Linked DNA regions of Homo sapiens: regions 1, 2, 3, 4 and 6 are each linked to region 5. The links are contacts of gene promoters, found by promoter capture Hi-C in human tissues and cell types (Jung and others, 2019). All regions are on one chromosome and are shown on one strand. Each heading gives the region's core, a stretch centred on a gene start or on the middle of the fragment in contact. The rest is flanking DNA. Distances are from core to core; before and after follow the strand shown.

Region 1 (4,769 bases), core at 1,318-3,817, 120 kb before region 5:
GAAAGTGAAGGAGAAGCAAGGTACCTTCTTCACAAGGTAGCAGCAGGAGACAGAGAGAGTGAAGCTGGAAGAGCCACACACTTTTCAAGCACAGATCTTGTGAGAACTCACTGACTACCACGAGAACAGCATGAAGGAATACTGCCCCTACGATCCAATCACCTCCCATCAGGCCCCTCCCTCGACACATGGGAATTACAATTTGAGAAGAGATTTGGGTGGGGATGCAGAGTCAAACCATATCAAGTGAGACGGGGTGATTCTGAGTTGATCCTTTTCACACGAAGTGGTTTCCTACACCATCCCACATCCACCCATTCCAAGCAACCTCTAGTCATCTGTTAAGACTCAACTCAAATATTTCTTCTTTATCTACTTTAGACTGAGATTTTTTTTTCTTTATCCTCTAAGATATGGGAATCACAGCATTATGTGCTAACACTGATCATAGTCCTTGTCATAGGAGTTTTGAACCTTGAATTAATTCTATATTTTCTCTCTTTTTATGTTACTTGAGGCAGGAGATACAAAGTCTGCATCTAGATTTAGAGGGTAGATTTTGACATTGAACTGATATGCCATGCATGTTTGTTAAATGAATAATTAAAAGAATAAATGTTCTCTCTAATATATTAAATATCCATATCTATTGTTTTATTTAATAAGGCACTATAATCTTTCTTCATAAATTATAATTTTTTATTATTATATTTTAAGTTCTGGGGTACATGTGCAGAACGTGCAGGTTTGTTACATACGTATACACGTGCCATGGGGGTTTGCTGCACCCATCAACCCATCATCTACATTAGGTATTTCTCCTAATGCTATCCCTCCCCTAGTCCCCCAGCCCCGACAGGCCCAGTGTGTGATGTTCCTCTCCCTGTGTCCGTGTGTTCTCATTGTTCAACTCCCACTTACAAGTGAGAACATGCGATGATTGGTTTTCTTTCCTTGTGTTAGTTTGCTGAGAATGACAGTTTCCAGCTTCATCCATGTTCCTGCAAAGGACATGAACTCATCCTTTTTTATGGCTGCATAGTATTCCATGGTGTATGTGTGCCACATTTTCTTTATCCAGTCTATCACTAATGGACGTTAGGGTTAGTTCCAAGTTTTTGCTATTGTGAACAGTGCCACAATAAACATACATGTACATGTGTCTTTATAGTAGAATGATTTATAATCCTTTGGGTATATATCCAGTAATGAGATTGCTGGATCAAATGCTATTTCTAATTCTAGATCCTTGAGGAATCGCCACACTGTCTTCCACAATGGTTGAACTAATTTATGCTCCCATCAACAGTGTAAAAGTATTCCTATTTCTCCACTTCCTCTCCAGCATCTGTTGTTTCCTGACCTTTTAATGATTGCCATTCTAACTGGAGTGAGGTGGTATCTCATTATGATTTTGATTTGCATTTCTCTAATGACCAGTGATGATGAGCATTTTGTCATAAGTTTGTTGGCTGCATAAATGCCTTCTTTTGAAAAGTCTCTATTCATATCCTTTGCCCACTTTTTGATGGGGTTGTTTGGTTTTTTTTCTTGTAAATTTGTTTAAATTCTTTGCAGATTCTGGATATTAGCCCTTTGTCATATGGATAGAGTGCAAAAATTTTCTCCCATTCTGTAGGTTGCCTGTTCACTCTGGTGATAGTTTCTTTTGCTGTGCAGAAGCTCTTTAGCTTCATTAGATCCCATTTGTCAATTTTGACTTTTGTTGCCATTGCTTTTGGTCTTTTGGTCATGAAGTCTTTGCCCATGCCTATGTCCTGAATGATATTGCCTAGGTTTTCATCTAGGGTTTTTATGGTTTTAGGTCTTACATTTAAGTCTTTCATCCATCTTGAGTTAGTTTTTGTATAAGGTGTAAGGAAGGGGTCCATTTTCAGTTTTCTGCATATGACTAGTCAGTTTTCCCAGCATCATTTATTAAATAGGGAATCCTTTCCCCATTGCTTGTTTTTGTCAGGTTGGTCAAAGATCAGATGGTTGTAGATGTGTGGTGTTATTTCTGCAGCCTCTGTTCTGTTCCATTGGTCTATGTATCTGTTTTGGTACCAGTACCATGCTGTTTTGGTTACTGTAGCCCTGTAGTATAGTTTGAAGTCAGGTAGTGTGATGCCTCCAGCTTTGTTCTTTTTGCTTAGGATTGTCTTGGTAATGCGGGCTCTTTTTTGGTTTATTTGAAATTTAAAGTAGTTTTTTCCAATTCTGTGAAAAAAGTCAATGGTAACTTGATGGGGATAGCATTGAATCTATATATTACTTTGGGCAGTATGGCTATTTTCACGATATTGATTCTTCCTATCCATGAGCATGGAATGTTCTTCCGTTTGTTTGTGTTCTCTTTTATTTCATTGAGCAGTGGTTTGTAGTTCTCCTTGAAGAGGTCCTTCACATCCCTTTTAAGTTCTATTCCTAGGAATTTATTCTCTTTGTAGCAATTGTGAATGGGAGTTCACTCATGATTTGGCTCTCTGCTTGTCTGCTATTGGTGTATAGGAATGCTTGTGATTTTTGCACATTGATTTTGTATCCTGAGACTTTGCTGAAGTTGCTTATCAGCTTAAGGAGATTTTGGGCTGAGATGATGGGGTTTTCTAAGTATATAATCATGTCATCTGCAAACAGAGACAATTTGAGTTCCTCTTTTCCTATTTGAATACCCTTTATTTCTTTCTCTCTCCCTTCCCTTCCCTTCCCTTCCATCCTGGCCAGAACTTCCAATACTATATTGAATAGGAGTGGTGAGAGAGGGCATCCTTGTCTTGTGCCAGTTTTCAAAGGGAATGCTTCCAGTTTTTGCCCATTGATTTGTGGATGTTGAACCAGCTTTGCATCCCAGGGGTGAAGCCGACTTGATCATGGTGGATTAGCTTTTTGATGTGCTGCTGGATTCGGTTTGCCAGTATTTTATTGAGGATTTTCACATCGATGTTCCTCAGGGATATTGGCCTGAAATTTTCTTTTTTTGTTGTGTCTCTGCCAGGTTTTGGTATCAGGATGATGTTGGCCTCATAAAATGAGTTAGGGAGGATTCCCTCTTTTTCTATTGTTTGGAATAGCTTTAGAAGGAATGGTACCAGCTCCTCTTTGTACCTCTGGTACAATTCAGCTGTGAATCCGGACATTTTTTGGTTGGTAGGCTATTCATTACGGCCCCAATTTCAGAACTTGCTATTAGTCTATTCAGGGATTCAACTTCTTCCTGGTTTAGTCTTGGGAGGGTGTATGTGTCCAGGAATTTATCCATTTCTCCTAGATTTTGTAGTTTACTTGCGTAGAGGTGTTTATAGTATTCTCTGATGGTAGTTTGCATTTCTATGGGATCCGTGGTGATATTCCCTTTCTCATTTTTATTGTGTCTATTTGATTCTTCTCTCTTTCCTTCTTTATTAGTCTGGCTAATGGTCAATCTATTTTGTTGTTGATCTTTTCAAAAAAGCAGCTGCTGGATTCATTGATTTTTTGAAGGGTTTTTCATGCCTCTATCTCCTTTGGTTCTGCTCTGATCTTAATTATTTCTTGTCTTCTGCTAGCTTTTGAATTTGTTTGCTCTTGCTTCTCTAGTTCTTTTAACTGTGATATTAGGATGTCGATTTTAGATCTTTCCTGCTCTCTCATGTGGGCATTTAGTGCTATAAATTTACCTCTACACACTGCTTTAAATGTCTCAGAGATTCTGGTATGTTGTGTCTTTGTTCTCATTGGTTTCAAAGAACATCTTTATTTCTGCCTTTATTTCATTATTTACCCAGTAGTTATTCAAGAGCAGGTTGTTCAGTTTTCATGTAGTTGTGTGGTTTTGGGTGAGTTTCTTAATCCTGAGTTCTAATTTGATTGCACTGTGGTCAGAGAGCCTGTTTGTTATGATTTCCGTTCTTCTGCATTTGCTAAGGAGTATTTTACTACCAATTATGTGGTCAATTTTAGAATAAGTGCATTGTGGTGCTGAGAAGAATCTATATTCTGTTGATTTGGGGTGGAGAGTTGTCTAGATGTCTATTAGGTCCAGTTGGTCCAGAGCTGAGTTCATGTCCTGAATATTCATGTTGATCTTCTGTCTCATTGATCTGTCTAATATTGACAGTGGGGTGTTAAAATCTCCCATTATTATTGTGTGGGAGTCTAAGTTTCTTTGTAGGCCTCTAAGAACTTGCTTTATGAATCTGGGTGCTCTTGTATTGGGTGCATATATATTTAGGATAGTTAGCTCTTCTTGTTGCATTGATCCCTTTACCATTATGTAATGGCCTTCTGTGTCTCTTTTGATATTTGTTGGTTTAAAGTCTGTTTTATCAGAGACTAGGATTGCAACCCCTGCTTTTTTTTTTTCTTTCTATTTGCTCAGTAAATCTTCCTCCTTCCCTTTATTTTGAGCTTATATGTGTCTTTGCATGTGAGATGGGTCTCCTGAATACAGCATGATGAGTCTTCACTCTTTATCTAATTTGGTCATCTGTGTCTTTTAATTGGGGCATTTAGTCCATTTACATTTAAGGTTAATATTGCTATGTGTGAATTTGATCTTGTCATTGTGGTATTTTGCCTGCTAGTTGATGCAGTTTCTTCATAGTGTCGATGATCTTTACAATTTGGTCTGTTTTTGCAGTGGCTGGTACCGTTTATTGCTTTTCATGTTTAATGCTTCCTTCAGGAGCTTTTGTAAGGCAGGCTTGGTGGTGACAATCTCTCAGCATTTGCTTGTCTGTATTTTATTTCTCCTTTGCTTATGAAGCTTAGTTTCGTTCTATATGAAA
Region 2 (4,166 bases), core at 1,538-4,037, 97 kb before region 5:
TCCTTCTTCACCTTGACTTTTCAAGATTATTTTTACTGGGTCTACAAATCTAGGTTGGCAGTCATTTCCTTTCATCACTCTAAAGATGTAACTCCTTTGTCTTCTGAATTTCGTAATTTCTTTTGTGAAAGCTAGTTTTTCTTGAAAAGTAATGTATTATTTTTATCTGATTGCTATCAGATTTTCTCTTTGTAAAATTAAAACTACGATGAGTACTAAAAGAAGGGTATCATGATGTTTCAATAATACAAAAAAAGGAGGATTTGTACAAGTCAGTTCGATCATCCTTCATGAGTATTTTTACTCATCAACATTGTTGATAGTGGTATGGAAGTATGGATAAGTAGGAGGAAAATGAGTTTTATGCAGAGGTAAGACAATGAGCAGTGGTTCTCTGTTGGTACAAGCATGTTACTGAGGACTAACAGGCAGTTTAGTTAGAGCTGTAAATAATACAAGGAAGGGACTGAGATGCAAATGGGAAGTGGGGAGGGGCCAGGCCATGTGCAACATTGTAAGCCATGCAAAGAAATTGGTCTTTATCCTTAAAAAAGTGGGAAAACATTAAAGAGTTTTTAAGCATGGGATACCATGACCAGATTTCCATTTTTGAAAGCTCACATGGGTTAATAGGTAGAGTGGCTGAAAAAAGTATCAACTTAAAAAGGACCAGAAGGTTAATCTCTCAGCTTTTTATACATGAAAGTCATCAAGTTATCTTACTTACTTCATAATGATTCACTCACTTTGGACTCTGAGCTCACTTGATGAATTATCCTTCTTTTGAAATACTACAAAAGGCCAGTCTTTATTAACTATGATATTAGTCCATTTTCATCCTGCTGATAAAGACATACTTGAGACTGGGCAATTTGCAAAAGAAAGGTTTATTGGACTTACAGTTCCATGTGGCTGTAGAGGCCTCACAATCACGGCAGAAGGTGAAAGGCGTGTCTCACATGGTGGCAGACAAGAGAAGGGTGCTCGTGCAGGGAGACTCCCATTTTTAAAACCATCAGATCTCGTAAGACTTATTTGATATCATGATAACAGCACAGGAAAGACCTGCCACCATGATTCAATTACCTCCCACTGGGTTCCTCCCACAACACATTGGAATTGCGGGAGTTACAATTCAAGATGAAATTTTGGTGGGGACACAGCCAAACCATATCATTCTACCCCTGCCCCCACCAAATCTCATGTCCCCACATTTCAAAACCAATCATGCCTTCCCAATATTTCCCCAAAGTCTTAACTCATTTCAGCATTAACTTAAAAGTCCACAGCCCAAAGTCACATCAAAGACAAGGCAAGTCCCTTCCACCTAAAAGTCTTTAAAATCAAAAGCAAGATAGTTACCTCCTAGATACAATGGGGTTACAGGCATTGGGTAAATACAACCATTCCAAATGGGAGAAATTGTCCAAAACAAAGGTGATACAGGCACCAAGCAAGTCAGAAATCCAGTGGAGCAGTCAAACCTTAAAGCTCAAAAATAATCTCCTTTGACTCCATGTCTCACATCCAGATAACATTAATGTAAGAGGTGGGCTCCCACAGCCTTGGGCAGCTCTGCCTCTATGGCTTTGCAGGGTATAGCCCCCTTTCCCCATTCTGCCCCACCAGCTGCTTTCATGGGCTGGTGTTGAGTGTCTGTGGTTTTTCCAGAAGCACAGTGCAAGCTGTTGGTGGATCTACCGTTCTGGGATCTGGAGGATGCTGGGCCCTCTTCTCACAGCTCCACTAGGCAGTGCCCCAATAGGGACTCTGTGTGGGGACTCTGACCCTCATGTCCCTTCCACACTGCCCTAGCAGAGGTTCTCCATGAGGACCCCACCCCTGCAGCAAACTTCTGCCTGGGCATCCAGACGTTTCCATACATCCTCTGAAATCTAGGCAGAGGTTCCCAAACTTCATTTTTTGACTTCTGTGCACCCACAGGCTCAACACTACATGGAAGATGCAAGGCTTGGTTGGGGCTTCCACCCTCTGAAGCAACAGCCCGAGCTGTACCTTGGCCCCTTTTAGTCACAGCTGGAGTGGCTGGGATGCAAGGCACCAAGTTCCTAGACAGCACACAGCAAAGGGACCCTGGGCCTGGCACATGAAACCATTTTTCCCTCCTAAACCTTTGGCCCTTGATGGGAGGGTCTGCCTCAAAAGTCTCTGACATGCCCTGGAGACATTTTCTCCTTTGTCTTGGTGATTAACATTTGGCTTCTCATTACTTATGCAAATTTCTGCAGCCTCCTTGAATTTCTCCTCAGAAAATGGGTTTTTATTTTCTATCGCATTGTCAGGTTGAAAATTTTCCAAACTTTTATGCTCTGTTTCCCTTTTAAAACGGAATGCCTTTAACAGCAACCAAGTCACCTCTTGAATGCCTTGATGCTTAGAAATTTCTTCCACCAGAAACCCTAGATCATCTCTCTCAAGTTCAAAGTTCCACAGATCTCTAGGAAAGGGGCAAAATGCCACCAGTCTCTGTGCTAAAATGTAACAAGAGTCATTTTTGCTCCAATTCCCAACAAGTTCCTCATCTCCATCTGAGACCACCTCAGCCTGGATTTCATTGTCCATATCATTATCAGCATTTTGGTCAAGCCATTTACCAAGTCTCTAGGGAGTTCCAGACTTTCCCACATTTTCCTCTCTTCTTCTGAGCCCTCCAAAGTGTTCCAACCTCTACCTGTTAAAATGTAACAGGTACCTCTACCTGTAAAAATGTTCCAAAGTCCACATTTTTGGGTATCTTTTCAGCAGCACCCCACTCTTGGTACTAATTTACTGTATTAGTCCATTTTCTGATACAGTAAATTGGTACCACTGCTGACAAAGACATACCTAGACTGGGCCATTTACAAAAGAAAGAGGTTTATTGGACTTACAGTTCCACGTGGCTGGGGAGGCCTCACAATCATGGTGGAAGGTGAAAGGCACATCTCACATGGCAGCAGACAAAAGAAGAAGCTTGTGCAGGGAAACTCCCATTTTTAAAACCATCGGATCTCATGAGACGTATTCACCATCACAAGAACAGCATGGGAAAGACCTGCCACCATGATTCAATTACCTCCCACTGGGTTCCTCCCATGACACATGGGAACTGTGGCAGTTACAATTCAAGATGAGATTTTGGTGGAGACACAGCCAAACCATATCAAATCTGTATCTTACATATATGTCTATCTATGAGGCCTAGTCTTATCCATCTTTATAAATAAATATTTTCCATTTAACCCAAGAAAAAAAAAGACTAACTTATTATGATTCTTAAATAGAAGAAGGAAAGGAAGAAAGAGTGATGAGGAATTATAGAAGTGAAAAAGATAATGGATCTCAGAGAAAGCGTAGTCACAGAAGAAAATATAAGGTTGTTTCTGCCTGTATTAAACATAAACCTGGCTGGGCGCAGTGGCTCACACCTGTAATCCTAACACTTTAGGAGGCTGCAGCAAGTAGATCACCTTAGGTCAGGAGTTCGAGACCAGCCTGGCCAATATTGTGAAACCCTATGTCTACAAAAATACAAAAATTAGCCAGGCATGATGGCAGGCACCTGTAATCTCAGGTACTTGGGAGGCTGAGGCAGGAGAATCGCCTGAACCTGGAAGGTAAAGGTTTCAGTGAGCTGAGTTCATGCCACTGCACTCCAACCTGGGCAACAGAGTGAGACTCTGTCTCAAAAACAATAACAACAACAAAACAAAAACAAAAATGTAAACCTGACTTCAGTAGCTTAATAAAAGAGGAGTTTACTTTTTTTTTTTTTTCCATATAACAAGAAGTCCAAAGTCTGGCCATTAGAGATTAGCTAGCATTGGATTTAACCTTCTGTCATAAACAATTATAACAGATAAACAAAATACATTAAGCAACATTTTGTAGGCACTGGGTAGCAACCAATAGAGGAATATGACCTTGGCAGAAGAGGATAAGAAGTGAACCCCACATTGGTCCCAGATTTCTGCTTATGAGAATTTCCTAAACAACATCCTGGTGTAATACAACCAAACTTAGAGAATGATGGTTTCACTGGTTTTTTGAAACAGAGATTAAAATTTGGGACCGCCAGTCCCCTGGGATTTGAAGGGCAAGTATCAAAGAGTAGGAAGTCACAGAGAGAGAAACCCAAATATCTGCAAATATTCACCTGAAGTTCC
Region 3 (4,794 bases), core at 741-3,240, 65 kb before region 5:
CTTTGGGAGGCCAAGTCGAGTGGATCACGAGGTCAGGAGATCGAGATCATCTTGGCCAACATGGTGAAACTCCATCTCTATTAAAAATACAAAAATTAGCCGGACATGGTGACATGTGCCTATAGTCCCAGCTACTCAGGAGGCTGAAGTACGAGAATTGCTTGAACACAGGAGGCAGAGGTTGCAGTGAGCCGAGATCATGCCATTGCACTCCAGTCTGGGCAACAAGAGTGAAACTCTGTCTCAAAAAAAAAAAAAAAATTGAAAGCAGGATGTGTACTCGTCTTCACAGCCTCAATACAGTGCACGATACATATAGGATGCTCAATAAGTGTTCCCATTCCTCCTTGGTAGTAATCTTGTCAATTTTTTTCACATATGTGTACCCAGCACCTAACCAAATTCTGATTATAGTTCTCAAAAAATATTTGTTGAATGAATGCCTGTGTCAGTAACTCCACATGAGGTAGGAGGCAGGCGGGACTCATCTCCAGACCAGACTGAAGACTGGCAGAAACCAGGAAGGGGTCCTGAAAGCACCTCCAGTTGCTCTCGCTGCCCATCCCTATAAGACACTACCACAGTTTACCGACACGTGGAGATGCCTGAAGTTACTACCCTTTGCCACGGCAATACCCAGAGAGTTATCACCCATTTTCTAGCTATTTCTGAGTAGAACTGCCTCTTAATTAGCATGTCATTAGAAGTAGATATAAATATGACCGCAAACCACCCATATGTTGTTACTCAGTTCACTGCCTATGCGATAGCTTTGCTCCACAAGGAGCAGTCACAGAGACTTGACACTGCTGCCACTTCAGTAAAGCTGCTTTCTTTCATCACCAGCCTGCTCTTGAATTCTTTTTTTAAGTAGGGACAGGATCTTGCTATGTTGCCCAGGCTGGTCTCGAACTTCTGGGCTCAAGCAATCTTCCTGCCTGGGCTTCCCAAAGGGCTGGGATCACAGGTGTGAGCCACCACGCCCAGCCTTGCTCTTGAGTTCTTTCCTGAGCAAAGCCAAGAATCTGCCCTGCATCGGTGATGAGTCAGCCAGGAGTGAAGAGAGGATGGTGGTCAGTGATTGATGAGGCAATGGTGAGAGATAATGGTTGGTGAGATAGTGAGAGATGGCAAGAGACAGCAAGCAGTGAGAGAGACAGCAAGAGGCAATGATCAGTGAGACAGCGAGAGATGGTGAGGAAATTGGTCATCAAAACTGCAAGAGCAGTAACACTAAGACTGTAATACCAAAGAGCTGCTAACACTGCAGAGAGGTGTAACATCAACCAAAGGCTCTTTTCAGAGCCATCATTTTCCTTCCTCCCTTCCTTCCTTCCTTCCTTCCTTCCTTCTTTCCTTTCTTTGTCTCTTTGTCTCTTTCTCCCTTTCTGTCTTTCTTTTCTTTTGAGATGGAGTCTTGTTCTGGTGCCTAGTCTGGAGTGCAGTGGTGCGATCTTGGCTCACTGCAACCTGCAACCTCCGCCTCCTGGATTCTCCTGCCTCAAGTGATTCTCCTGCCTCAGCCGCTCGAGTAGCTGATATTACAGGCACCCACCACCATGCCTGGCTAATTTTTGTATTTTTAGCAGATATGGGGTTCCACCATGTTGGACAGGCTAGTCTAGAGCTCCTGACCTCAAGTGATCCGCCCCCTTATGGCCTCCCAAAGTGTTGGGGTTACAGACGTGAGCCATCGTGCCTGGCCAGAGCCGTCATTTATCCTGGCAGGCAGTGGAGCCAAGAGGACAGGCAAGTGGCCAGAGCACCGCCTGATGTGGGACCTACCAGGTTGCTGATCTCCACACTTGTTCCCCTCTAGCAGCCAAGCCCACCCAAGCTGGGGGTCACCTAGGCAGGCCTTCACCCAGTTCCACAAGCCTGGCTGGCACCATTTTGGCTCCTGCAGACAGTTGTCTCCATTGCCAAGTAGGTTCTGTGGTGAATCCGAGCTTCCAAGGTCTCCCCTTGAGAAATGCTGTTCACCCCTTCCCTTCCTCCCTTCTGTGTTTACTTTCTGTTTAGCCCCTCTCTGCCCAAACTAAGATGCTTTCATTGCTCTCTGTAGAATTCACTCTCGTCATTCTACTACCCATTCATAGCTCATAATTGGCTTTTGTAATGCTTTGCTACCTATACTTACACCTTCTTTGCAAAAAGTGAAAATTTGAAAGGAAAATGTGACTAAGCTTTTGCTAGACTTAGACTAACTACAAAACTCCTGTAGAAATCCTTACTAGACATGGGGACAGCAGTGAGCATCCCATAGGCCTTGCCACCGGGATGTCTTTTAGGCAAGTGGAGGAAATTCAAATCTGATGATTTAAAGAGGAAAAAAACCTCATTTTCCATGGCAACACTGAGTCGAATACAAATTGGGGAATCAACAAATTTGGCCTAGAAATGGCTCTTTATGTTATAATGCTATTTTACAATTAGATTTATTCTGTAAAAAGAAAGGAAAATGGGGAGAAGTTCCTTATGTGCAGGCTTTATGGCCCTCTACCAAGATCCTGACCTAAGAGATAGCTGTAAAATGTGTCTGGCTCATAACACCTCTGGCACCAAGAAGCTACCCCAGATATCCTGGATTACCCCTTCCTAGCTGCTCCAGCTAGAACGCCTACAAGCCCGCCTTGGAGATTCCTCAGTCCTTCAGTTCTAAGAAGGTTCCCACCAGTTCTCTAGCACAGGATTCCACTCCAAGGTCATCAAGAACTTCTCCCCCTTATCCAACAGATCCCAGCCTATGCCCCCTGCTGCCCAAGGAAGCAAGCCCAACCAGTACCACCAGCAGTAGGGTCCCGTATCAGCCCCTCAAATCAAACCTGTGTCCGTATCAGCAGGTAGTTGACAGAGATGGTGGAAAAATCAGAATATATGTACCTTTTCCATGTCCAATTTGGCTTTATGCAAGAAAATGTGGCCAGTTTTCAGAGGATCCAGGGAAGTTTGTACAGGAGTTTGTTAAATTGGCCATGTCCTTTGATTTAAGGTGGCATGACATGCCAATATCATTATCCACTTGTTTTGCCATAGAAAAAAACAAAACAGGCTGGGCACGGTGGCTCAGGCCTGTAATCCCAGCAATTTTGGAGGCCAAGGCGGATGGATCACCTGAGGTCAGGAGTTCAAGACCAGCCTGACCAACATGGAGAAACCCCGTCTCTACTAAAAACACAATAATTATCTGGGCATGGTGATAGGCACCTGTAATCCCAGCTATTCAGGAGGCTGAAGCAGGAGAATCGCTTGAACCCGGGAGGCAGAGGTTGCAGTGAACCGAGATAGCGCCATTGCACTCCAGCCTGGGCGACAAGAGTGAAACTCAGTCTCAAAAAAAAAAAAAAAAGAAAAAGAAAAGAAAAGAAAAAAAGACTCTAGATACTGCCCACGAACATGCAGATGGAGTGGCTACTCGTAACCAAGGCCATACCATTTACTGTGTGGAGGGGGGTGAGGCAGTTCCAGATCAATTCCTAAGATCTTGAATGCAGAAATCACATACTAACTCATTTAATAGAAGGCATGAAAAAGTATGTGGTCAAGCCAGTTAATTATGACAAGATTAGAGAAATAACTCAGGGGAAAGATTAAAATCCTCTGACAGAAACACAATCCAGATCCTTAATTTTCTGGGAAAACAAGGTGATATGGTTTGACTGTGTCCCCAGCCAAATCTCATCTTGAATTGTAGCTCCCATAATTCCCACGTGTCATGGGAAGGACCTGGTGGGAAGTAATTGAACCATGGGGGTGGGTCTTTCCCATGCTGTTTTCATGATAATGAATAAGTCTTATGAGATCTGATGGTTTTATAAAGGGGAGTTCCCCTACACAAGCTCTCTTGCCTGCTGCCATGTAAGACATGACTTTGCTTCTCATTTGCCTTCTGCCATGAGTGAGGCCTCCCCAGCCATGTGGAACCGTGAGTTCATTAAACCTCTTTTCTTTATAAATTACCCAGTCTCAGGTATGTCTTTATATCTCACACATTAGCAGTGTAAGAACAGACTAATACAGAAGGGTACTGGGTATCTCCCCACAAGGCCCAAATTTCTGCCCAAAGGGTGAAGTATCTGAGATGTGTGTTTATTCCTGGGACAAAAACCTTAGCCCAGGAATAGAAAGAGACCATTCTGGCACTCCAGCCCACTCAGACTAAGAAACAGTTAAGTGCCTTTTTGGGAATGGCCAGATTCTGCCATATTTGTATTCCCAGGTTTGGGATCATATCAAAACCACTCTATAAAGCTCTAAAAGAGTGTGATCACAAGCCTTTGAATTGGGACAGAACCTCACAACAGGCATTCTTAACCCTAAAAGAAATGCTGGGAACATGTCCCAAACCTTTCACTCTCTATGTGACTAAAAACAAAGGACATCTTTGGGTGTTCTAGCTCAAAGGCTCAAGAATAATCCTAAACCAGTGGCTTACTTTTCTAAACAGCTAGGCCAGTTGGCAGCTGGGTGGCCAGGATGCTTTTGAGCTGTGCCCACCACTGCTCTGTTGGGGGAAAAAAACAAAAGGCAGTAAATTTACCTTGGAACAACAATTAGATGTCATTATCCTTCCCCCAACCAAATACAGGGGGTCCTAGAGGCAAAAGGACATCAATGGCTAACAGGTAGTCAGTTGTTTAAATATCAGGCCCTTCTGCTTGACACCACAGATGTTACCTTAAACTATGTCAGGTTTTAAACCTGCTACTCTGTTGCCAGACTTCACATCCCAAAAAGCAGATCCCCAGCTCATTTATTCCTCTGTGGAAACCACAGATCAGACCTATTCTAGCA
Region 4 (4,467 bases), core at 716-3,215, 120 kb after region 5:
CTATGAAGTGACTTGGTGGTTGGCAAAGGTACCAATGCAATTCTATTGAGAAAGAGTGCTCATTTCAATAAATGGTACCAAAGTATATGAATAACCATATGAAAAAAATTGAACCTTCGGTCCTACCTCACATAGTATATATTTAAAAATTCTAGGTGGATTACAGACGTAAATGTGAAATACTCAACAGAGAAGCTTCTAGCAGGAAACACTGAGAGTGCCTACATGACCTTGGGATAGGCAAACATTTTTTAAGCTAAAGACAATAGATACACTAACTGTAAAAAAAATACTAAATTGTACTTCATATATACATATGTGTGTGCATAAATATATTCTTCGTTAAAAAACTAAGAAAGTTAAGAGACAAGCCACAGAATGGAAGAAGAAATTTCCAAATGAATATATCCAGCAAAGAACTCATATCTACAATATATTTTGAGATACCTTTATAAATTAATAAGATAAATGCAAACAAGAATACAAATGTGAACAAAAAACTTGAACAGGCACTTCACCAAATGAAATTACCTAAATTGTTAATTAGCACATGAAAAAGTGGTCAGTATCATTAATCATCAGAGAAATGTAAACTAAAACTACAATGTACTATTACTACACAACCCACCTGAAGAATGGCTAAAATTAAAAACTTTGACAATACTAAGTGTTGAAAAAGACACAGAGCAACTGTAATTCTCATATTGCTAACGGTATGTAAATTGGCAAAACCACTGAGGAAAATTCTCCATCTGTATCTTCTAAATCCTGTATGCCTATCCTCTGACCCAGCAATTCCACTTCTAGGTATATAACCCAGGAAAATGAATGTATATGTCCACCAAAAGAGATGTATAAGAAGGTGCATAGCAGCTCTTTTCTTAGTAGCTGATGAATAGAAATAGTTAAAGTGTCTACCATCAGCAGAATGGATAAACACATTATTGAATATTCAGACAATGAAATACTACACAGAAATTAAAAAAGAATGACTGCTGCTAACCACAGCAGCATGGATGAATCACAGATATGAAAGAAGGCAAATACCAAAGTGCATGTACTGTGAGATTTCATTTATAGCAAGTTCACGAACATGTAAAACTAATCTATGAGATAGAAGACATTAAAATGGTAGCATCATGGTGTGGGGGTGAGATCAGCTGGAATGAGGATGAGGGAGGATTCAGGGGTTCTAGAAATGATCTATATCTTGATCTGAGGATTGATTACACAGCATAAATAAATGAAAATTCATCAAGCTATAAACTTAAAATTTGTATACTTTATTTATTTTATCTATATTTCCTTTTCAAGGCACTGTTCTATGGTTTAAAATGTACATCCTTACCTCATCATCATTTACCTTCAAATAGTGTTATTCCACTTCACATATACTGTGAGAACCTTTCAGCAGTATATTTCCATTTCTCATTCCCTTTCTTTGTGTCCTTGTTGTTGTTCATTTTACTTCTACAGGTTATAAACTCCCATGATGCCTGCAATGTTTTGCTTTAAACAGTTAATAATCTTTTATAGGATATTTTTAAACTGAAAAATAAGGGTTTTGTATTTATCCACATATTTACCATATCTAGAACTCTTCATTTTGTATTGGTACAAATTTCCATCTGGTATCATTGTCCTTCTGTCTGAAGAGCTTCCTTTAACACATTTTGGACTTATAATAAATTCAATTTTTCTTTGTCTGGAAAAGTCTTTATTGTGCCTTCACTTTTTTTTTTTTTTTTTTGAGACAAAGCCTTGCCCTGCTGTCCAGGCCGAAGTGCAGTGGTGCAGTCTCTGCTCATTGCAACCTCCGCATCCCATGTTCAAGTGATTCTTGTGCCTCAGCATCCCAAGTGGCTGGGATTACAGGTGCGTGCCACCACACCTTGTTGATTTTTTGTCTTTTTAGTAGAGACGAGGTTTTGCCACGTTGGCCAGGCTCGTCTTGAACTCCTGACCTCAGGTTATCCACCCGTCTTGGCCTCCCAAAGTGCTGGGATTACAAACATGAGCCACTGTGCCTGGCCTATGCCTTCACTTTTAAAAGATAATTTTACTGGGTATAATATTCCATACCGACAGTTGTTTTTTGGTTGGTTTTCTTTTTCTTTTCCTTTTTCTTTTTCTTTTTTTTTTTTTTCTGAGACAGAGTCTCACTCTGTTGCCCAGGCTGGAGTGCAGTGGCGCGATTGCTGCTCACTGCAAGCTCTGCCTCCCGGGTTCATGCGATTCTCCTGTCTCAGCCTCCCGAGTAGCTGGAACTACAGACACCCGCCACCACGCCTGGCTAATTTTTTTGTATTTTTTAGTAGAGACAGGGTTTCACCGTGTTTGCCAGGATGGTCTTGATCTCCTGACCTTGTGATCCACCCGCCTCGGCCTCCCAAAGTGCTGGGATTACAGGCGTGAGCCACCGCGCCCAGCCTGGTTTTCTTTTTCTTTTAGCTCTTTAAGGAAGATTTACTACTATCTTCTGGTTTTCTATTTTCTCACAAGAAGCTGTTTATCATTCTTATCTTTGTTTCTCTTTATATAAAATGTATTTTCCCCCCTTTGGCTGCTTTGAAGATTTTCTCTTCACCACTGGTTTTTAATAAGTTGGTTATTCTATGTCCTGCTGTTTATTTTCTTTGTTTCTTCTGCTTATGATTCATTGAACTTGTTAGGTCCAGTTTTCATTAAATGTAGAAAAACTTTGGCCATTTTGTTTTAAATTTTCTGTCCCTACCTCTTCTCTTACTGAGACTTTAATTACTCATATATTAGACTATTTAATATTATCCCATAACTCACTGAGGTTCTGCTCTCTTTTTCTTTCTTTGCTTTTTTTTGTGTGTATTTTTGTCTCTGTGCTTCATTTTGGGTTGTTTTTATTGTTTTCTCTTCAAGTTCACTAGCATTTTTTTCAGCAGCATGATATGGTTTGGCTCTGTGCCCCACCTAAATCTCATGTTGAATTGTAATCCCCGCTGTTGGAGGTGGGGCCTGGCAAAAGGTGCCTGGATCATGGGGGTGGTTTCTAATGATTTAGCACCATCCGCCTTGCTGTCCTCATTATAGAGTTCTCACAAAATCTGGTTGATTAAAAGTGTGTAGCACTTCCCCCTTTGCTCTCTCTCTCTCCTGCTTCTCTGCCATATGAGGATAGTGCTTGCTTCCCCCTTGGCCTTCCACCATGATTGTAAGTTTCTTGACACCTCCCCAGAAGCAGAAGTCTGTTCAGCCCACACAACTGTGAGCTGATTAAATCTCTTTTCTTTATAGACTACCTAGGCTCAGGTAGTTGATAGCAGTGTAGAACAGACTGATACAAGTGTCTAATCTGTTGTTAAGCCTAGCGGTGCATTTTCTATTTCAGATATTATAATTTTTATCTCTACAAGTTTCATTTTTAATTTTTAAAATATGTTTCTTTCTCTCCCATTGTATTGTTTCCATCTACATTCTTGAGAACCTCTTTATAACAGTTGTTTTAACTTCCATTTCTGCTCTTCCCATCATCTCTCCATTTCCACGTCTGTTTCTATTCGTTGATTTCTCCTTGTTGTGGGTCATATTCTTCTGCTTCTTTGCATTCCTCGTAATTTGTGATTGAATGTCACTACTTTTACATTGTGAATGTGATGTGTTGGGTGCTGGGTTTTGTTAGATTCCTTTAAACAGTGGTTTAGTTTTTTCTGAGATGCAGTTAAGTTACTTGTAATAAACTTGATCCATTCAAGACTTGGTTTTAAGCTTTTCTTGGGACAGATCTACATGGAGTGATTGATTATTCTAGTTTGCCTGGGATTAAGGAGTTTTCCAAGACATGGGACTTTCACTGTAAAACTGGGATTGAAGAGTTTCTGAGAAATGGGACTTTTAGTTTTAAAGCTGAGAAAGCCCAAGGCAAACCGGGACAAACTGGTCGTCCTAGATCCAGAGCATGCTGTTGGCCAGGGATAATTCAGTCCCACTATGAAATTTTGAGTAACCTACCCATTTGACAAGGTCTTTACCCTCTAGCTGGTGAGCACATGGGTTCTTCCCAGCTCTGTGGATTCTGGAGATTGTTTCCTAATGGCTTTTTCCTGGCCTTGATTACTTTCCTTTCATGTATGCTCAAATTAGTTACTCAGCGAAAGACATAGATCTCCCTGGAGTTTGTGAGGTTTTTTGTTTGTTTGTTTGTTTGTTTGTTTTATTTTTTCTCTGCAGATTCATCTTTTCCTATACTCTGTCCTGCAAATTTTAGCTGCCATGGCTACCCTGAACTTCAATCTTTGTATCCTTAACTCAGTGAAACTGATGAACTCTGCCTTCTCCCATGCTGTTCTGCTGCCTGGAAACTGCCTCTAGGCAGTAAGCTAGGATAAACATAGGGATAATTTTGTTCCCTCTTACAGGAATCATAGTCCTGAAATGCCTGTTGTCTAGTTCCTGAAAACTGATATGTAATGCAGTTTGTCTGGCTTTATTGTT
Region 5 (4,611 bases), core at 781-3,280:
CCAGGGAGGCGGAGGTTGCGGTGAGCTGAGATCGCACCACTGCACTCTAGCCTGGGTGACAGAGCAGGACTCAGTCTCGATAAAAAACAAACAAACAAAAAACAGAACATCTGGCAACTCTGGGTGGGTCTCCATTCACATATGGCAAAAATCAGTTGGAGCTGAGCAGTGACTGTCACCTTAGGCAGGTGTGCATACCTCAGTCTGTCACAAGCCCCATCCCTCCTTTCTATTATACCCTGCCAACCTCACTTAGTACATGACTACCCGGCCACGTCGGTATTAAAGTTTGTGATCCTTCAGCTAGTCTTATGCCCTCTTAGTTACTGAGGTTAGAGTCACTCCCTCTTAGTTACTGAGATCATGTACTAACGCTCATGCAGTAAGTGGAAGATGCTGGGTAAGAACCTTCCCGATCTTGGAAATAGTACCATTACTCCACAGTGGCTCAAGCTAAACACCTAGGAGATTTTCTTCTTTCATCCCTTTACGTCAACCCCTGTCATAGTCTATTTTGTGCCAATATAACAGAATATCACAGACTGGGTAATTTATAAGGAACAACAATTTATTTAGCTCATGGCTCTGGAGGCTGGGAAGTCCAAGATTGAGGGGCTGCATCTGGTAAGGGCCTTCATGCTGAGTCACCCCATGGCACAAGGCAGAACAAGAGAGCAGCAGAGGGGTGGGGAGAGGGCCACTCCTGGCATTAATGGAATCACCTCTTAAAGGTCCCACCTCTCAACACTGTTGCATTGGGGATTAAGTTTCCAAGATATGAACTTTGGGGAACATATTTAAACCATAGCATCCCCTAAATCCAGCCTAATCCATCATCAAGCCTTCCTGTGCTACTTTTGACACACATTGCAGGAGGTCCACCTTTTCCGTATCTTGCTGTCACCACCCTGGTCTTCATCACCATAATCTCTTGCCTGAATTGTTCCCTCCAGATTGATATGACAAAGCCCTGACCCTCACGGTGGCCTACAAGGTTCTGGGTGATGGTGATTCCACACTAGTCTACCTCTCTGGCTGTAACCCACTCTCCCCTTGCTCACCTCACTCAGCCACCCTGGGGGCCAGTTCCAGCTTCAGAACCATGCATCGGCCGACCCCTCTGTCAGCAATGCTCTTGCTTCAGCCCTGGAATCGTTTTTGTCCTCCAAGTATCCAATATCACAAGCGGCCCGGAGACCACCCTAGGTATAGCAGTCCTAGACCCCTTTCTTTTTCTTTTCTTTTTTTTGGAGACGGCATCTAGCTCTGTTGCCCAGGCTGGAGTGCAGTGGCTCTAACTCGGCTTACTGTAACTTCCACCTCCCGGGTCCAAGCAATTCTGCCTCAGCCTCCCGAGTAGCTAGGACTACAGGTGAGGGCCACCATGCCCAGCTAATTTTTGTATTTTTAGTAGAGACGGGGTTTTATCATCTTGGCCAGGCTGGTCTTGAACTCCCGACCTCGTGATTCACCTGCCTCGGCCTCCCAAAGTGCTGGGATTACAGGCGTGAGCCACAGGCACCCAGCCGACATTCTCTTGTTTTTTTCGTTTGTTGTATATAACCTACCCCCACCTCCACCCCATGCAAAGTCCACGAGGACGATAGACTTTGTCTTGTTCCCTGTTGCATCCTGGCCCTAGGGCCTAGCCCACAACCTGGGACATTTCCTGACAAGGGGCCCTGGTTTCTCTGAGGTGCCACCTGAGGTCCGGGAGGTCAGCTGACTTTCCCAAAGGTGGATTCCAAGGACACTGCATTCTTCGCACTCCCCGAGGGGCGTCTAGACACTCCTGGGACCCAGAATTATTAGCTAACTGGGCTCCTGAGTCCGGTGAGAGCTCAGAGTCTAGAAGCAACTTTCCCTGCCTGGAGAGGTGAACCCAGCAAGGCGTTGGGGAGAGGCGTGGGCGAGGGAGTGGGCGCGGGTGGGCGGGGCCGTCCGGGGGCCTCGTTGCCCGAGCCAATGGGGCGCCGCGGCGCGGGGAGGCCGGGCCGCCGGGCGGGGGCGCTCGCGCGCGTTGAGGGGCAGAGGCTGAGCTCCCGGGACCCGGAGCGGATCGACTGGCGGGCGCCGCGCCGAGGCACCACCGGGCGCCGAGTTCCTGGCGGCTCGCACGGTAAGCGGCGCGGCGCCGCAAAGTAGACTTTGTGGGGTTTCTGACAGCCGGGAGACCCCACCTCGAGCGGGGGCTGCTGGTGCGTTCTCGCGTCGGGCTGCGTCCCCTGGAGCTCCGGCTCTGTGTCCGCGGGATGCGGGCGCACGGAGGGGCAGGGAGGGAGGCAAGGAGCCGCGCACCACGGTGTCTCCCCAGGCTGCCGCTGCCGGGGCCCTGGGCCGGTCCCTGGGACAGACAGATCGGCGTGCGGGGGCCGTCTGCCGGGCCCGGGAGCCGGGGGCGCGCAAGACTGTGGATCCTAAGACTGCCTCCACCCAGCGCCCGGCCCGGGGAAGAGCTTGCGGGAAACCAGGAACCGCAGCGGCCGGACCTCTGCTCTGCGCCGGCTCCTAGGACCTGCCTTAGGTCCCCAGACCCCTCATGACCTGTTGCCTTGGGTTTGGGAGGTCAGGTTTGTCATGCCATTTCCGATTTCCAGTCATCCTGGGGGCAGGATGAAATTTCAGAGTGGTTTCCTGGCCAAGCTAGAAGCAGAGAATAGCTATGGATACAGCACCTCGTGTATCTATCCAGCACTTACTTGGCTTTTTCTGAGTGCCAGGAACTGTGCCAAGCCCTAGCAGCATGAAGAATGGCCTTTGGGGAGCTTCTGGGGCTAAGAGGGACAGTAGGAGGAGCAATTGCAGTGCAGGGTAGTGCGGAAGACTCGAGATGGAGAAGAGGACGGTGAGGAAGCCAGGAAGGTTTCAGAGAGGAGGTGAGCATTGACTGGAAGTCGGAGGTTTTGCCAGGCTGAAAAGTGTGTTGGGACTGTGAGTTGATAGGGAGCAGGAATTCCAGGTGGGTTTTCTTGTGTAAAGGTAAAGAAACTGAAAAGGTCCGGTGTCCTGACCTAGCACATCAGATAATTCTACAGCAGATAATGGAGTAGGACCGGGTCTTGCTGTAGGTAGGAAATGAGCTCTCGACATGGCAGGAAGCTAAAACCTGCACAGACCTTAAAGTGCAGCCTTAGAATATTTAGAATTTTATCCTGGAATGAAGGAGGGCCGTGGAAGAATTCTGATCAGTGATCAGGTCCCTCTGGCAGCTCTGGGGACAATGGATGGAGGCCGGAGCATCAGAAAGCTGGTAAGTTGTAGTTGTTTTCTGGTCCTTGGCTGCAAATACTCTTCCCTGCTTAAGGGAGCCCCCTCTGCCCGGGAGCCCTGCTCCCTGGCTTCTGGACATGGATTCAGGCAAAGAGATGCTGCCCGTGTAATGCTTGCTTCTGCAGCCTGCACATCATTTTGATATTGTTTCTGGAGCCTGTGACCTCAGTCTTGTCATCAGGCCTCTGAAGGGTGCCTCTGCTCTTCTTTTCTCATCTTCAAGCCCTCTGTGTGCCCTTCCCCTCTGCCTGGGCTCCCCTTTCTGTTTCACAGAGATCCAGTCTCAGCCATTGGAGGCAAGGCTGTGTGTAGATTGGTGTAGTAGAAAGAACAAGGGCTCGCTGGGAAATCAGACCAGAAAGTCACTTTAGCCATAGGCTTTGGGGACATTAGCAACCTTCATGAACCTTCTTTTTCTGATTTAAAAGGAAATCATTGTACTCACCTGTCATGGTTTGGGTTCCCTGGAAAAAGACTTGGCGCTTCTGAGATTTTTGTGCAGATAAGGGAAGCAGAACTGGGCAGAGGGAGATGTTGATCTATGGTGCAGTGCAAGAGAGGTCTCAATCCCTCCCATGAGACAAAGAGACGAGGCCTTTGAAGCTTAATGTTGATCAGCCAGTGGGTGCAGGCTGGTCCTAGGGAGGGAGCTAGGATGTCCCTTCAGCAGGACAGTTCCTGACTAGGGACTCACCTGGGAGCTGGGGTAACCAACACTCTGGCAGCTGGACATGGGGAAGTCATGAGTGTCTTGGTCTTGGAGGGGGAGTTGAGCATTTCCCCACGGTATCCACTACACTACCTCACAAATGAAGTAGTGCTTTGTACTGTGCCTGGTGCATAGTAGATATCTTAAAAGTATTCATTTCTCTCACCTTTAAGTTTCATGACTGCACCTGAAAATGAGTTTTGGAATTCGAGTTGAGTCAGCTTTTGTGAGGAGCTTTTAATAATAATAGCCACGAAGACTACTGCTTCCCTTTTTTGAGTGTCTATTATGTATATACATTCTCTTCTAGTTGTCCAATAATACTCCAACTTAGGTACTTTTATTCTCATTTTATAGTAAACCCAGTCTCTTCCAAAACCCAACCAAGTTGATGTTCTTTTGCCACAAAATAATAATTATAATAATAACAATCACTCACAACTCTATGATTTGTTACACTTTCCAAAGTGCTTTCATTGGTGGATTGATTGATTAATCATTCATTCATCCACTAATTAATCAATCAATGTGTATTGAGTGTCTCTTAAGGAGTAGGCGCTATCCTAGGTGATGGGGAGAAAGCTCAGTCTATTAGAGGAGATAGACATTAAATGCTTGGATTCATCAAAAGC
Region 6 (4,658 bases), core at 1,884-4,383, 76 kb after region 5:
TAGGGTCTCCAGGAAAGGTACCCAAATTCTTCCCTCTAGAGTTTGGGTACCCAGATCACTCGTGTGACTTTGAGCAGAGACTTCTCCATCTGGAACACGTTGGGAGCAATCCCTGCCCTACCACCCCTCAGGGTTGGCATGAGGGTCAAATAGGAGGAAGGATGTGAAGGGTCTGGCTGTCCTTATAGGCCAAGGCCACCTCTTTTCCCCATCACCAGCCATCACTCCTTGCACCTGTGAGACAGATCAAAGCAAGGTGAGTCATAATTCTGCTTTGGAACCCCCAAGAGGGTAAGATTGTTTTGTTTATTTGTGGGTCCCCAGCACACAGCACCCACTAGGCACAGGGTAAGCACTCGATAGCTCTTTGCTCTTGTGGATTCTGTTTCAGGCCATGGACTACATACTTTGCAGCTTACTGTGTGCCAGGAACTATTCTCAGTGCTTTGTATGCCTTGTTTCATTTAATCCTCATAACAACCCTGTGAGGTGGCTACTACTATGAGCCTCATTTCCTAGGTGTGGAAACTAAGGCATTCAGAGGTTGGCTTACCCAAGCTTGCACAAGTGAGTGGAGGAGTTGGGGTCCTATCCAGGCTGTATGCCCTGAAGCCATTGCACTTTACTGCCTTGTTGCATAGAGGATTATGTGACTTTCTCACCACACCCTTCCCTGGTAGTTACTGTCACCACTTGACAAATGAGGAAACTGAGACCCAGAGGGCTAAGTGTCTTGTCTTAGAACACATGGTCAGTGAGTAGTAGAGCTAAGATTTTGCCCAAGCCTGTGTGATTGCAAATCCATGTTTTTTTTCCCAGTATGCTGGTGATTGTAATGATAGGTTACCATTCCCGGTCCCAGGCCCACCCAGTACTTCTTTTAAATTTGGAGCTTGGATTTAAAAGCAAGTGATTTTTAAATCCACGAAAGATGCCTACCTTGGATCCTGCTCTGGTCCTTATTAGCCACACCTCTCTTGACAGGCAGAGGAGTTAGGAGTGAGGGGATATTCCCACCAAGACCCTACAAATTGCACTCTTAGGCCATGCCCTGGGTACCCAAACTCTAGAATTCCCTCCTCAAAGGGACCTTAACCCAACTTCAGAGCCTATATAGGCCAATTCCTTGGTCCATTTTCCAAGGGGTGGCCAAAGGACAACCATTTGGGGAGGGGAAGGGAGTAGATGAAGCTTGGCCACGTGGTCTGGGCAATCCACATACCCGCACCAGGAGCCTCAGTGGTGCAGAGGAGAGTGGGTGGGGAATTAAGGAAGATCTTGGGTGAGGTCTGAGAACCAAGAGCTGGCAATCCTTGTGCTGCCACGTGCTGGGTAGAGTGCAAAGAATTCTGAGAAGTTTACATTCTGAGTCTTTAAGGTCATTATGAAATTGTATCTGCCAAGGAAGGAAGACAGACTCTTTGGGACTCTTTTTTTCTTTTTTCTTTTCTTTTTCTTTTTCTTTTTTTTTTTTTTTTTTGGATGGAGTTTCATTCTTGTCGCCCAGGTTGGAGTACAATGGCGCAATCTTGGCTCACTGCAACTTCTGCCTCCCAGGTTCAAGCGATTCTCCTGCCTCAGCCTCTCCTGCCTCAGCTGGAATTACAGGCGCCCACCACCACTCCTGGCTAATTGTTTGTATTTTTAGTAGAGATGGGGTTTCACTATGTTGGCCAGTCTGGACTCCAACTCCTGACCTCGTGATCCGCCTGCCTCAGCCTCCCAAAGTGCTGGGATTACAGGCATGAGCCACCATGCCCAGTGGACAGATGTCTTTTATTTAAATGTTTGCTGGCTTGATTTTGTCAATTTTAAATATTAGACATATGACCCATAGGTTTCCATTTGTCGCTTTGCCCCAGGCACTTCAAATACTAGACATGGGCTTGTCCTGGTGTCTGGAATTTGCTGATACTACCTTTAAGGATTACGATAAAATTCACAAACTGTATGAAAAGATTCTCTTTGCATGAGGCTGTCCACATGGGTATTTATTTGAAGACCATTGCTGAAAGAAAAAAAAAATCAAAATCTTGCTTTCGAGTCATACTAATAGTTCCTTTCCTACTAAACTACCGCCTAGTTGACATCTAAGCCCATCAGGACGTAAGAAAAAGTGGTGCTAATATCAGAGCTGTCAGTCAGTTTTGGGAAGAGATTAACTCCACCAGCATCAGCTAAGAGTAGGTAGAGAGACTTTGGAAGCAGACAGGCTGAAGCAGTTAGTGAATTTGTAGAAAGGATTCTTTCACAAATGGAAGGCTGAAAAATAATGGGTGATGACATCCATCTTCCAAGGAAAAGAGTAGGAGACTAAGAAGGTTGTTTAATGCTTAAAAAATTATCCATTAGAAATAAATCATGTGGCTGCATCCAGCTGATGGGAGACTTGGGGTACACATTTTTATGTACCAATCTGTCAACTCTCTTACTGTGGGAAAAGGGGAGAATGAGTATTAGGAAGCAAAGAGCTGTCTCCGTCCCAGAGAAGGTTTATGGAAATGCTTAACACAATGCTCAGTTCACAGCAAGTCACCAAGAACTATTAGTGTCATCATACCAATAATCAAAAAGAGAAAATGGAAACTTTGTTACTTTTTGTGAGACGATATCCAAACCTATAAAGACCCCAATTTTCACTGCTATTTTTCAGAGTTGAGCAAAAGCACAGATATGGAATTAGAAGTCCTGGGTTCAAATCCCTTAGGCAAAATATTTAGTCTCTCTGGGTTTCAGTTTCTTCATCTGTAAGTTGGAAATAATGATATCTACTTCGTGGTGGTGGTTGTGAGTGTTAATGAGAAAGGCTGTAGGTTAAACTCTATAGCAGAGTTTCTAGCACAAGAGTTGATACTCAACAAGTGTTTTTTCATCAGTCCATTCACTCATGTATTCATTCAACAAATATTAATCAATTTCCTACTATGTGTTAAGCACTCTGGTAGGTGTTAGGAAGAAAGTGATGAATACAATAGGTTATTTCTGACCTCAAGGAGCTGTGGTATAGTTTAGTGGTACACAGACATTAAACACAGTTACTAATTATAATTATTGTTGTAATAAATAGTATGAAAACAATATGAAGAGACTCTCAGTATAGAGATGAATCATAGGTCAGGATTAGGGTGCTTATGGAGAAAAATCACCAGGTAAATGAATTTGAGAAATAATTAAAATGTAGAATCAGTGAGTGTAGGGATGATGTCTAAACAATGGGTAGATAGGGATGTCATGTACTGATGATGGGGAAGACAGAGGCAGGGATGTAGAAGGAAGTCTGTGGAAAGAAGGAAGGAAGGACGGACGGATGGCAGATAGACAAAGGAACAAATGAGGACTGCTTTATTAGACAAATAGAAAAATAGAGAAATGGGTGAGACTGGATAGATCAATAATAAATCTTTGGTGGAGTATGTGGGGCATATAGGTATAACTCAATAAAACAATACTGCATTATTTATTTTTGTAGGATTCCCTTTTTTGAATAGTTAGAAGATTTGGATAATGGGCGTCACTAAAACATTGATTTTTGTTGAGAGTTAAAATGCCATAACATTTTTAATGTTAAAAGAACACAAACATATATACTTGAGAATGAAACTGGATCAAACAAAACTGTATTTTCTAAAGTCTTTAAATTACACACTTTCTAGCAATCATCATTCTTTTATACATTCAACATATTTCTGAAGACTAAATTGGAGGGTTGGAGGATACCAAGATAAACCATGTGTGGTTTTGCCTTCAAAGGGTAGGGGAGACAGGATTAACATATATGTGAAGATAACATGATGAAAATCATGAATTTAAGAAAAATATGGATAAAACACTATAAACATCCTTTAATTCTTTTAAAATTGATACATAATAATTTACATATTTATGGGGTACGTATTGGTGTTGTGATACATGTAACGTATAATGATTAGATTAGGATAGTCAGCATAGCCATCATTTCAGACCTTTTTATGTGGGATCCTTTTTCTTATTTAATCCTCAAAGTAACCCTTAGAAATATGTAGCACAATTATTATTATTATTATTATTATTATTGTTTGAGACTGAGTTTCGCTCTTGTTGCTCAGCTGGAGTGCAGTGGCGTGATCTTGGCTCACCGCAACTTCTGCCTTCCGGGTTCAAGCAATTCTCCTGCCTCAGCCTCCCGGGTAGCTGTGATTACATGCATGTGCCACCATGCCTGGCTAATTTTGTATTTTTAGTAGAGATGGGGTTTCTCCATGTTGGTCAGACTGGTCTCGAACTCCTCACCTCAGGCAATCCACCTGCCTCGGCCTCCCAAAGTGCTGGGATTACAGGCGTGAGCCACAGCGCCCGGCCTGTAGCAAAATTATTAATATCATTATTTTACAGATGCTAAAACTGAGATGCAGAGAGGTCAAGTGACGTGACAGAACTAGAACTTGAGCCTCCAATCTTATCCACCATCTCCCCTCTACCACACACCACCTATAAAGAATGAGAAAATCGGCCAGGCGCGGTGGCTCACGCCTGTAATCCCAGCACTTTGGGAGGGCGAGGTGGGTGGATTGCCTGAGGTCAGGAGTTTGATACCAGCCTGACCGACATGGTGAAACCTCATCTCTACTAAAAATAAAAAAAATAGCCGGATGTGATGGCAGGCACCTGTAATCCCAGCT

What was found. The method cuts DNA at HindIII sites, captures the fragments that hold promoters and counts their contacts. A contact is called where the count stands out against the background at its distance.
Region 1: a fragment that was not itself captured here is called in contact with the fragment with the promoter of SYN3 in region 5 in 5 of the 25 tissues and cell types used here (heart left ventricle, hippocampus, lymphoblastoid cells and 2 more).
Region 2: a fragment that was not itself captured here is called in contact with the fragment with the promoter of SYN3 in region 5 in 3 of the 25 tissues and cell types used here (adrenal gland, bladder and mesendoderm cells).
Region 3: a contact is called between a fragment that was not itself captured here and the fragment with the promoter of SYN3 in region 5, in 4 of the 25 tissues and cell types used here (H1 embryonic stem cells, liver, mesendoderm cells and 1 more).
Region 4: a fragment that was not itself captured here is called in contact with the fragment with the promoter of SYN3 in region 5 in 2 of the 25 tissues and cell types used here (IMR-90 fibroblasts and lymphoblastoid cells).
Region 6: a contact is called between a fragment that was not itself captured here and the fragment with the promoter of SYN3 in region 5, in 2 of the 25 tissues and cell types used here (IMR-90 fibroblasts and spleen).

Annotation. Positions count from the first base shown.
Region 1 is chr22:33,173,240-33,178,008 of GRCh38, reverse strand. It overlaps a transcript of LARGE1 not described here. Among named protein-coding and RNA genes, the nearest start is that of LARGE1-AS2, 11 kb to the right of the region's middle. The HindIII fragment of the contact is 8,863 bases long and covers 1-4,769 here.
Region 2 is chr22:33,153,780-33,157,945 of GRCh38, reverse strand. It overlaps a transcript of LARGE1 not described here. Among named protein-coding and RNA genes, the nearest start is that of LARGE1-AS2, 8.4 kb to the left of the region's middle. The HindIII fragment of the contact is 4,788 bases long and covers 394-4,166 here.
Region 3 is chr22:33,120,915-33,125,708 of GRCh38, reverse strand. It overlaps a transcript of LARGE1 not described here. Among named protein-coding and RNA genes, the nearest start is that of LINC01640, 15 kb to the right of the region's middle. The HindIII fragment of the contact is 9,037 bases long and covers 1-4,794 here.
Region 4 is chr22:32,936,211-32,940,677 of GRCh38, reverse strand. The region is part of intron 3 of SYN3 (synapsin III); the gene reads left to right. Among named protein-coding and RNA genes, the nearest start is that of SYN3, 120 kb to the left of the region's middle. The HindIII fragment of the contact is 4,443 bases long and covers 1-4,186 here.
Region 5 is chr22:33,055,800-33,060,410 of GRCh38, reverse strand. It overlaps SYN3 (synapsin III), which reads left to right and starts at 2,030. Exons shown (of 14, transcript NM_003490.4): 1 at 2,030-2,119. The HindIII fragment of the contact is 13,516 bases long and covers 1-4,611 here.
Region 6 is chr22:32,980,984-32,985,641 of GRCh38, reverse strand. The region is part of intron 2 of SYN3 (synapsin III); the gene reads left to right. Among named protein-coding and RNA genes, the nearest start is that of SYN3, 75 kb to the left of the region's middle. The HindIII fragment of the contact is 4,515 bases long and covers 876-4,658 here.